2 separate regions of the Homo sapiens genome follow, and region 1 is linked to region 2. Evidence: promoter capture Hi-C in human tissues and cell types (Jung and others, 2019). All regions are on one chromosome and are shown on one strand. Each heading gives the region's core, a stretch centred on a gene start or on the middle of the fragment in contact. The rest is flanking DNA. Distances are from core to core; before and after follow the strand shown. Region 1 has its middle 21 kb from the start of SDHAF1. Region 2 holds the start of SYNE4 (spectrin repeat containing nuclear envelope family member 4).

The links. Contacts are between HindIII fragments. The study calls those that stand out against the background at their distance.
Region 1: a contact is called between a fragment that was not itself captured here and the fragment with the promoter of SYNE4 in region 2, in 5 of the 25 tissues and cell types used here (dorsolateral prefrontal cortex, mesenchymal stem cells, mesendoderm cells and 2 more).

The regions. Positions count from the first base shown.
Region 1 is chr19:35,971,809-35,975,915 of GRCh38, forward strand. No RefSeq gene overlaps it. Among named protein-coding and RNA genes, the nearest start is that of SDHAF1, 21 kb to the right of the region's middle. RefSeq lists silencers at 1,746-1,946, 3,946-4,107. The HindIII fragment of the contact is 9,546 bases long and covers 1-4,107 here.
Region 2 is chr19:36,007,299-36,011,335 of GRCh38, forward strand. SYNE4 (spectrin repeat containing nuclear envelope family member 4) reads right to left here and starts at 1,515. Exons shown (of 8, transcript NM_001039876.3): 1 at 1,256-1,515; 2 at 919-1,069. The coding sequence starts at 1,383. It overlaps ALKBH6 (alkB homolog 6), which reads right to left. Exons shown (of 7, transcript NM_032878.5): 5 at 3,596-3,747; 6 at 3,269-3,385; 7 at 1,822-2,255. The coding sequence ends at 1,992. RefSeq lists enhancers at 687-1,228, 1,229-1,768. The HindIII fragment of the contact is 19,934 bases long and covers 644-4,037 here.

The sequences.
Region 1 (4,107 bases), core at 374-2,873, 35 kb before region 2:
ATTTTTTTTTTTTTTTTGAGACTGAGTCTCACTCTGTTGCCCAGGCTGGAGTGCAGTGGTGAGATCTTGGCTCACTGCAACCTCTGCCTCCCAGGTTCAAGCAATTGTCCTGCCTCAGCCTCCCAAGTAGCCTGGGACTACAGGCACATGCCACCACACTCGGATAATTTTTGTGTTTTTAGTAGACACGGGGTTTCACTATGTTGGCCAGGCTGGTCTGGAACTCTTGACCTCAGGTGATCCACCTGCCTCAGCCTCCCAAAGTGCTGGGATTACAGGCGTGAGCCACTGCGCCCTGCCAAGATTTGGGCAGGGACAAATAGCCAAACTATATCAGACACTAACAACATCCCTGTGGCTGCCAGTTGAGAACAGATTACAGGGCTTGTGAAGGAATGAGGCCTGGAGGAACAACAGTGAGGAGGCTGCTGCAGTAGTCCCGGCAGGAGACAATGGGGCTTGGACCAGGGTGGGGCAGTGAACGCAGGAGAAATGTGGGCTGGAAACCACCAAGTGAGGCAAAATAAGGAAATCATGGACTGGGAGAAAGGAGGTACCCCTTGATCTGGAAGGACAGGTGGAGGCTCTTGGTAATGGGGGAAGCCCTTGGGTCCTGTCTGAAGGCTCTCCTGTTTACTGGATGAGGTGGGCACACCTGGCTCCTTGGTAGGATTACTCATCTAGATTCCTGAGAAGAGGACTTGCAAGTATTGTGTTAGGACAAATCTGGATATTGAAATCAAGACTCCCAGTTTAAAAAAAAAAAAAAAGAAGGCCGGGCACAGTGGCTCACGCCTGTAATCCCAACACTTTGGGAGGCCAAGGCGGGCGGATCACGAGGTCAGGAGTTCAAAACCAGCCTGACCAACATGGTGAAACCCTGTCTCTACTAAAACTACAAAAATTAGCTTGGCATGGTAGTGCACGCCTGTAATCCCAGCTACTCAGGAGGCTGAGAGAGCAGAATTGCTTGAACCTGGGAGGTGGAGGTTGCAGTGAGCCAAGATCTCGCCACTGCATTCCAGCCTGGGAGACAGAGCGAGACTCTGTCTCAAAAAAAAAAAAAAAAAAAAAAAAGATTCCCGGATAGAGGCTGGGCATGGTGGCTCACATCTACAATCCCAGCACTTTAGGAGGCCAAGGTGGGCAGACTGCTTGAGCTCAGGAGTTCCAGACCAGCCTGGGCAACATGACGAAACCTCGTCTCTACTTAAACACACACACACACACACACACACACACACACACACACACACACACACACACACAGAAAGATTCTTGGTTAGCTGGGCACGGTGGCTCACACCTGTAATCACAGCACTTTGGGAGGCCAAGGTGGGCGGATCACAAGGTCAGGAGATCGAGACCATCCTGGCTAGCACAGTGAAACCCTGTCTCTACTAAAAATACAAAAAATTACGGGGCGTGGTGGCAGGCGCCTGTAGTCCCAGCTACTGGGGAGGCTGAGACAGGAGAATGGCGTGAACCCAGGAGACGGAGCTTGCAGTGAGCCGAGACTGTGCCACTGCACTCCAACCTGGGCGGCAGGGTGAGACTCTGTCTCGAAAAAAAAAAAAAGAAGAAGAAGAAGAAAAAGAAAGATTCTTGGTTAGTAGACGAGGGTGGGGCATCCTAGATCTGCAAAGGCCCCACTCTCAATATCCCAGAATCCAACCCCCTCAACCTCCTTATCCTCCACCCCTCCCCGATGCTCAGGAATTCAGCCCCTCTGAAGACCCCAGCTCTTGGTCACTCCTGCAGGGGAACCCACAGCAGCTGGGGCTGTCAGTTATCCTGGGCGACAGATGGCTATGGTTGTACTTCCACACCTCAGAACCATGGGCAGAGGCAGGTCTGGAGCAAGAACCGCCCACACTGCATCTCTTTTACAACCGGCAGCACACACGTCACTGCACGTGGCTGAAGGTTGCCACTCACACAAGGCAGACTGTGCAGTGACTTCATTCAGGCAGGACCATGACATGGGCAGTCCAGATCCACTGGTCTTCGTGCATTTGGGCCCCGCAGCCACCTGATACCCTGAGCCAAGCCTTAGTCCCCACAGGAGACTGGGGGCCCTGTGCTGTCCCTGTAGCCCCAAAGGGGCCCCTTAGCCACTGCCACCAAGTGTGACACCTACACCCTTCGAGGCCAGTGCCGTGCCTGGATATGCCCCTTCCCCAGCTCCCTGCCTACGCTTTGGGAGTGCTTCCATGTCTGTGTACACCCTGTCAGGCCTCAGTGTCAACACTGAGCCCTCGAGCTTCTGGGCTGGCTGCCGTGAGTGACCCTTCAAGGGAAAGGGTTATAGGCTGCTGGGTAAAGGGGATTCTGGGACTTAGGAATGACACTCCTTAGTTCTGGAGGCTGATTCCTGGGGCAAGGGTGTAGGGTCCCTGGAAGGGGACAGCCTCTGGGTCCTGGGGGCAAGACTGCTGAGTTGGGGGGTGCGGGGAAAATAATTCTAGGGCCCAGAGACAGGGCTCTTTGGGTCTGGGGCCAGGGCTTCTGGGTCCTGGGCATGGGAACAACTTGGCTATAGGGCTGGGACTGCTGGGTTCTCAAGTTCTAGAGACTAGAACACCTAGGTGGTGACAACTCCAGTATCTGGGGTGAGCGCTCTGAGTCCCAGAGCCAGACTTATTTATTTATTTAGACAGGATGTCACTCTGTTGTTTATTTAGACAGGGTATCACTCTGTTGCCAAGGCTGGAGTGCAGTGGTACTATCATAGCTCACTGCAGCCTCAACCTCCCAGGCTCAAGCCATCCTCCCTCCTCAGCTTCCCAAGTATCTGGGACCACGGGCATGTGCCACTATGCCCAGATAATTTTTTAATTTTTTTTGTAAAGATGAGGTCTTCCTATGTTGCCCAGGCTGGTCTCTAATTCCTGAGCTCAAGTGATCCTCCCACCTTGGCCTCCCAAAATGCTGGGATTACAGATGTGAGCCACTACGCCTGTCCCAGAGCCAGACTTCTATGTTCTGGGGAGTGGACTTCTGGTTTCTTAGCACAGAGACTTCTTTACTCTGTGAGGCAGGGATTGCTGGGTCTGTTGCCTGGAGAGCTCCATTCTAGAGGGTGAGGACCACAGGATGTTGGTAGGGATTCCTGGAAGCTGAGAGCAGGGACATTTGCACTATAGGGGTGGCCAAATGCTTGGGTCTTGGAAACCAGACCTGGGAGTCCTGGTGTGAATACCTTTCCCTTCCTGTCTTTCTCCATCCCCACTCCTGCCCCTGCAGCTATTGAGTGCCCCGAAAACAATCACTATGAGCCATGTGGCTTATCCTGTCCAGAGACCCCCCACAGGCAGGCCCACTGGGGGTTACCACTGCCCTGCGGGCATACTTGTGCCTGCGACACAGGCTGCTTCTTCCTTTTTTAAGAGACAGGGTCCTGCCAGGCGCGGTGGCTCATGCCCGTAATCCCAGCACTTTAGGAGGCTGAGGCAGGCGGATAATCTGAGGTCAGGAGTTCAAGACCAGCCTGACCAATATGATGAAACCCCATCTCTACTAAAAATACAAAAATTAGTTGGGTGTGGTGGCAGGTGCCTATAATCCCAGAATCTAGGGAGGCTGAGACAGGAGAATCGCTTGAACTCAGGAGGTGGAGATTGGAGTGAGCCGAGATTGTGCCACTGCACTCCAGCCTGGGCGACAGAGCAAGACTCTGTCAAAAACAAAATCCTAGAATCTCAAGGGCAAGCCCCAGTGTACCAGAAGTGTCAGACTCTGGGATCTTGGAACCCAGTTCTGAGCCAATAATTCCATTTCCTCATTCAACAACCATATATTGAGTATCTACTGTGTTCCAGGCACTATTTGAAGTGCTTCTTTAAGTATGTTAACTGAATTTCAGAACACACTCTCAGTCCAGGTCCTGGGCACCCCCATATAGGATCCAGGAGTTCTAAAGTCCCAATCCCCAATGTTTACAAACCCTCACAGCCCCCCAAATCCTAGATGCCAAACACAACTGCTGTGGACAACAACGATCAGAACCATGGACAGCAGTTCAGGCATTTGTAGCTGCTGTGGGCCCACCCCCTGCCCAGTACCAGTCATCACAGCACCCTGGAACCCCTGCCATTACTTAGAAAG
Region 2 (4,037 bases), core at 265-2,764:
GTGGGCCAATCAAGATATCACCCCTGCTCCCATCCCCACCCCTCTTCTGTAAGCTTCTGGAAACTTCTCTGTGGCACAGTCCATCTCCGGGTCTGTCTGCACCAGGATGGCTCCCACTGGGGGGGCCTTCCCAGTGGAGCCAGGCCTGAGGACAGATATCTAGTTCAAGGTCTCCAGGTTTTCAAAGCTCCTGGAAACTTGGATGTGTGAGGCCTGGGGGGTCTGGACAGGGAGCGGGGCTGGGTACCCCCCAAGAAGAATGGGGCTACACCAGGAGCAATGATGAAATGCTTCTCAGCCGGGCGCAGTGGTTCACATCTGTAATCCCAGCACTTTGGGAGGCCGAGGCCCGAGGATCACTTGAGCCCAGGAGTTCAAGACCAGCCTGGGCAACATGGTGAGACATCATCTCTACTTTTTTTTTTTTAATAAAAAAGAAATATGGCTGGACACGGTGACGCACGCCTGTAATCCCAGCACTTCGGGAGGCTGAGGTGGGTGGATCACCTGAGGTCGGGAGTTCGAGACTAGCCTGGCCAACAAGTCGAAAACCCATCTCTACTAAAAATACAAAAAATTAGCCAGGTATGGTGGCATGTGCCTGTAATCCCAGCTACTCGGGTGGCTGAGGCAGGAGAATCACTGGGACCTGGGAGGCGGAGGTTGCAGTGAGCAGAGATCTCACCACTGCATTCCAGCCTAGGTGACAGAGAGACTCCATCTCAAAAAAAAAAAGAAAGAAAGAAATACGTCTCCCCAGTTGGTCAGATATTGAAACACTTTTCCAGAAGGTCCCTCCCCCTACAGACACCCAACACCTTTCCAGAATCATCACCCGGTCCTCAGTATGGAGGCCAGACTCCAGGGGACAGAGAGGAGGTGGGGCTGGCACAAGGGGTCTGGGTCACCTCAGCTCACCTCACAGTGTTTGCCCCCAGCTGGGTCCTCGTAGGAAGAGGGTGTTGACCATCTCGGGGGGTGAGCGGCAGGCTCATTGCCCCTTGGCCCACCCTGGAAGTGCTCAGGAGGGCCCAAGGAGTCCTGTCCCAGGGTCTGGGCCTGCTCTGGGCTAGGAGGCAGGGGGCGGTGACTGGGTGAGTCTCGACACCTCACTTTTCAGCCTACCGTCACCCCAACCCTGGTGGCCTCTCCTATGTCCCCAGGCGATCACAGCCATGGCACCTCCTACCCTCACATGGCCCCTGCCACCACGCCTACCCTTTTGGGAACAAGCTTCCAAAGCCCCGGCCCCCACCTCGTGCTCTCCTCTCCGGACGCGGGGCAGACGGTGCATCCAACAATGTCCGCCTCTCTAGGTGCTCCCGGTGGGTGGTTGAGGGGCTCTGAGCCAAGTCTAGGGCCCAGAGGCAGGGACAGGGCCATGGCTGGGGGCCTGGGGACACAAAGTCAGGTGAGGGCAGCCAGTAAGACCTCTTCCCTAGACAAGGGTGTCCCAGAGCTCCTCCGCTGGAGTCACCCGGGCCTGAGGCTGCAGGAGAGGCCCAGGACAGGTCTGGCTCCGCCCCTTCCAAGAGGAACCTGGACCCGGCCATTTGATGCCCAGCTCAGGTGACAGAAGAGTCACTTAACTCCTTCCTCCCTAGCAGGCCAGTAGCTAAATCTCCCAGCATCACTCCACGCCATCCAAGAGGGTTCCAGATAGAACCCCTGCGCCACCTCCTCAAGAGCCCTGGATTCTGCCCCACTGGGAACCCAGAAATCGGACCTCCAGGGCCTACCCCATTCATTTAAGACCCTAGATGCCGCTCCCCTCAGGAAACCAAGCATCTGGCCCCTAAAAAATAAAAATATAAAACCAAGGAAAGATTTTTTTGTTTATTTGGTATGGGGTCTTCTGTAGCTCACACAAAATTATTGGGAAAATAAATAACCCAGGGGAGCCCCCTTTGCCCACGGTTCCTAGGTCGCGGAGTCACAGCAGCCCCAAAGGGGCAGGAACCTGGGAATCCGAGGGGTCCCGGCCCTGGCGGTCACTTGCCCAGCAGGAGGCCGGCGCGCAGCACGCGGGGCACGCGGCGGATGGTCAGCGAGACCCGGGTGCCGCGCACCAGGCAGGCTCCCGGCCGCGCCGACGGGCAGGCTGCCGCATTGGGCGGCGAGGAGGCGGCGTCCAGCGCGTCTACGCGGGCGGCGGCGATGCCGTGGAGAAGACGCGTGTAGGCGGGGCCGCGGAGCACCAGCAGGCTGCGCGGTTCCAGCAGTAGCGAGGTGGTGGGCCGGGGCGGAGGCCGAGGCTGCAGGGCGGGTTGAGGGTCAGCAGGGCTCAAGAAGTCGGGGGGTGGGGGTGGGCGAGAGGTCGGTAGCCTCCGGGGATCAGCTAGTCCCCAGGGGCAAAAGCTGAAGAGCAAGTGTGCTCACAATGATGGAGGCTTTGGTGGTTCAGGAGTGAAAATTGCTGGGGCCTGGGCTGGGGCTGCTGGAAAGGGAGGGCGAGGGCTCTGCCGTCCCTCGGGAGGGGGCAGGATCTAGGTGGCAGATGGGGGCGTCAAAGGGTCAGCGGCCGGTGGGAGCTGCAGCTGGGATCTCAAAGGGGCTGAGGCTGGGGCTGGGACCCAGGAATAGGCAGTCCCCAGGAAATACAGGCAGAGCTGGGCTGAGAGAGCATGGCTGAAGCCAGGACCAGGTGAGGAGAGAGTGAGGCAGAGGTTAGAGGCAGTGGGGGTTCCCAAGGACATCAGGACATTAGAGGACAACCGCACAGCTGAGGGAGTGTCAGAGCATCCAGGAGCATGCAGGGCTCGAGGGCAAGCCTCAAGGAGTGGGTCGGCGTGTTCAGGGGCGTTTCTGTGAACACTGGGGTGCTAGAAATGCATCACTCAGAGAAATTGTGTCAAGGGGTCAAGGAGAATCTGGGGGTGTCCTGCACCCCAAATCACATTCCTGGAGTAGCAGGACGTCTGGGGCACCCTGAGCAGGGGCAGATAGAGCATCTGGGAGGAGGTGAGGCCCCCCGAGTTAATGGCGGTGGGGTATCTAAGGATATCAGTGTCTGCTGGGGAGTCAGGGGTATCCATTCAGCAGGTTGGGGCATCGGGGAGCCTGTGAAAATCATGGCATGTGGGACAGACACCCTGTAAGCAGATGGGTTGGGTGTCTGGGAGGAAGTGGGTACACCCCATGAGGGGACAAGGGAAGGTATCTGGGAGAGTGCCAGGAGTACCCCGAAGGCATGTGGGACCAGGTCATCTTGGAGGATGTGCGAGGTTGAAGTGCCTACAAGCAGCTGGGGCAGTGTCTGGGGGCCCACCTGTTCTGTAGGGTCATCGTCCTCTGGCCGCCGCGGCTCGTAGAAGTCCAGCACGGTGTGGGAGCCCAGGCTGATGGTGCTGACAGTCGGGTAGTACAGTGGTCCGTCCTCGTGGGGCTAGGGAGTGGGCACCAGGGCTGGGCAGGGCAGGAGTCCACAACCCCCACCCTCTGGGTCAAAGGGGGGCTTCCCAAGCCAGGGACAGGGAGGTGAATGCCTGTTTGGGAGATGTGGCTGCCTAATGAGTGAGGGTGGGTACAGAGTCCCCTGCCCCAGCACAGCTCAGAAGTCTGAGTGGGGGGACACGGGCCGAGGGTGTGTGGTTACCATGATGCCCTCCCCAGGCAGATACTGGTTCACGAGGACATGGTTAGCTGGGAGGCCTCCAAAGAGGCTGAGGTTTGACACTTTGTCCACGTAGCGCTGGAGCCATGGGGGCAGCCGCTCAGGAACCATCCCTCGGGGATGAGGAAGCCCACCTGGGGAAGGCAATGGGGTCCTGAGGGCCCCCCTATAGCAATAGATCCCCCATTAGGGATTCCACAGTGGCTGGAAGCACCCTGATCCTCTCAGGGACCCCTGACCGTTTGGAGATAGCCACTGGGTCCTTCAGAGGTTTCCTCACTTCTCCAGACCACAGGTCCCTTTCAGATACTCCCAACTCATCAGGAAATCCCTAATCCCTCAGGACCTCCACTGACCCCTTCAGAATCCTCCTGGCTCTTGGGGCCCCTTGAGCTGTCAGGGACCCTCTGATGTCTTAAGTCTA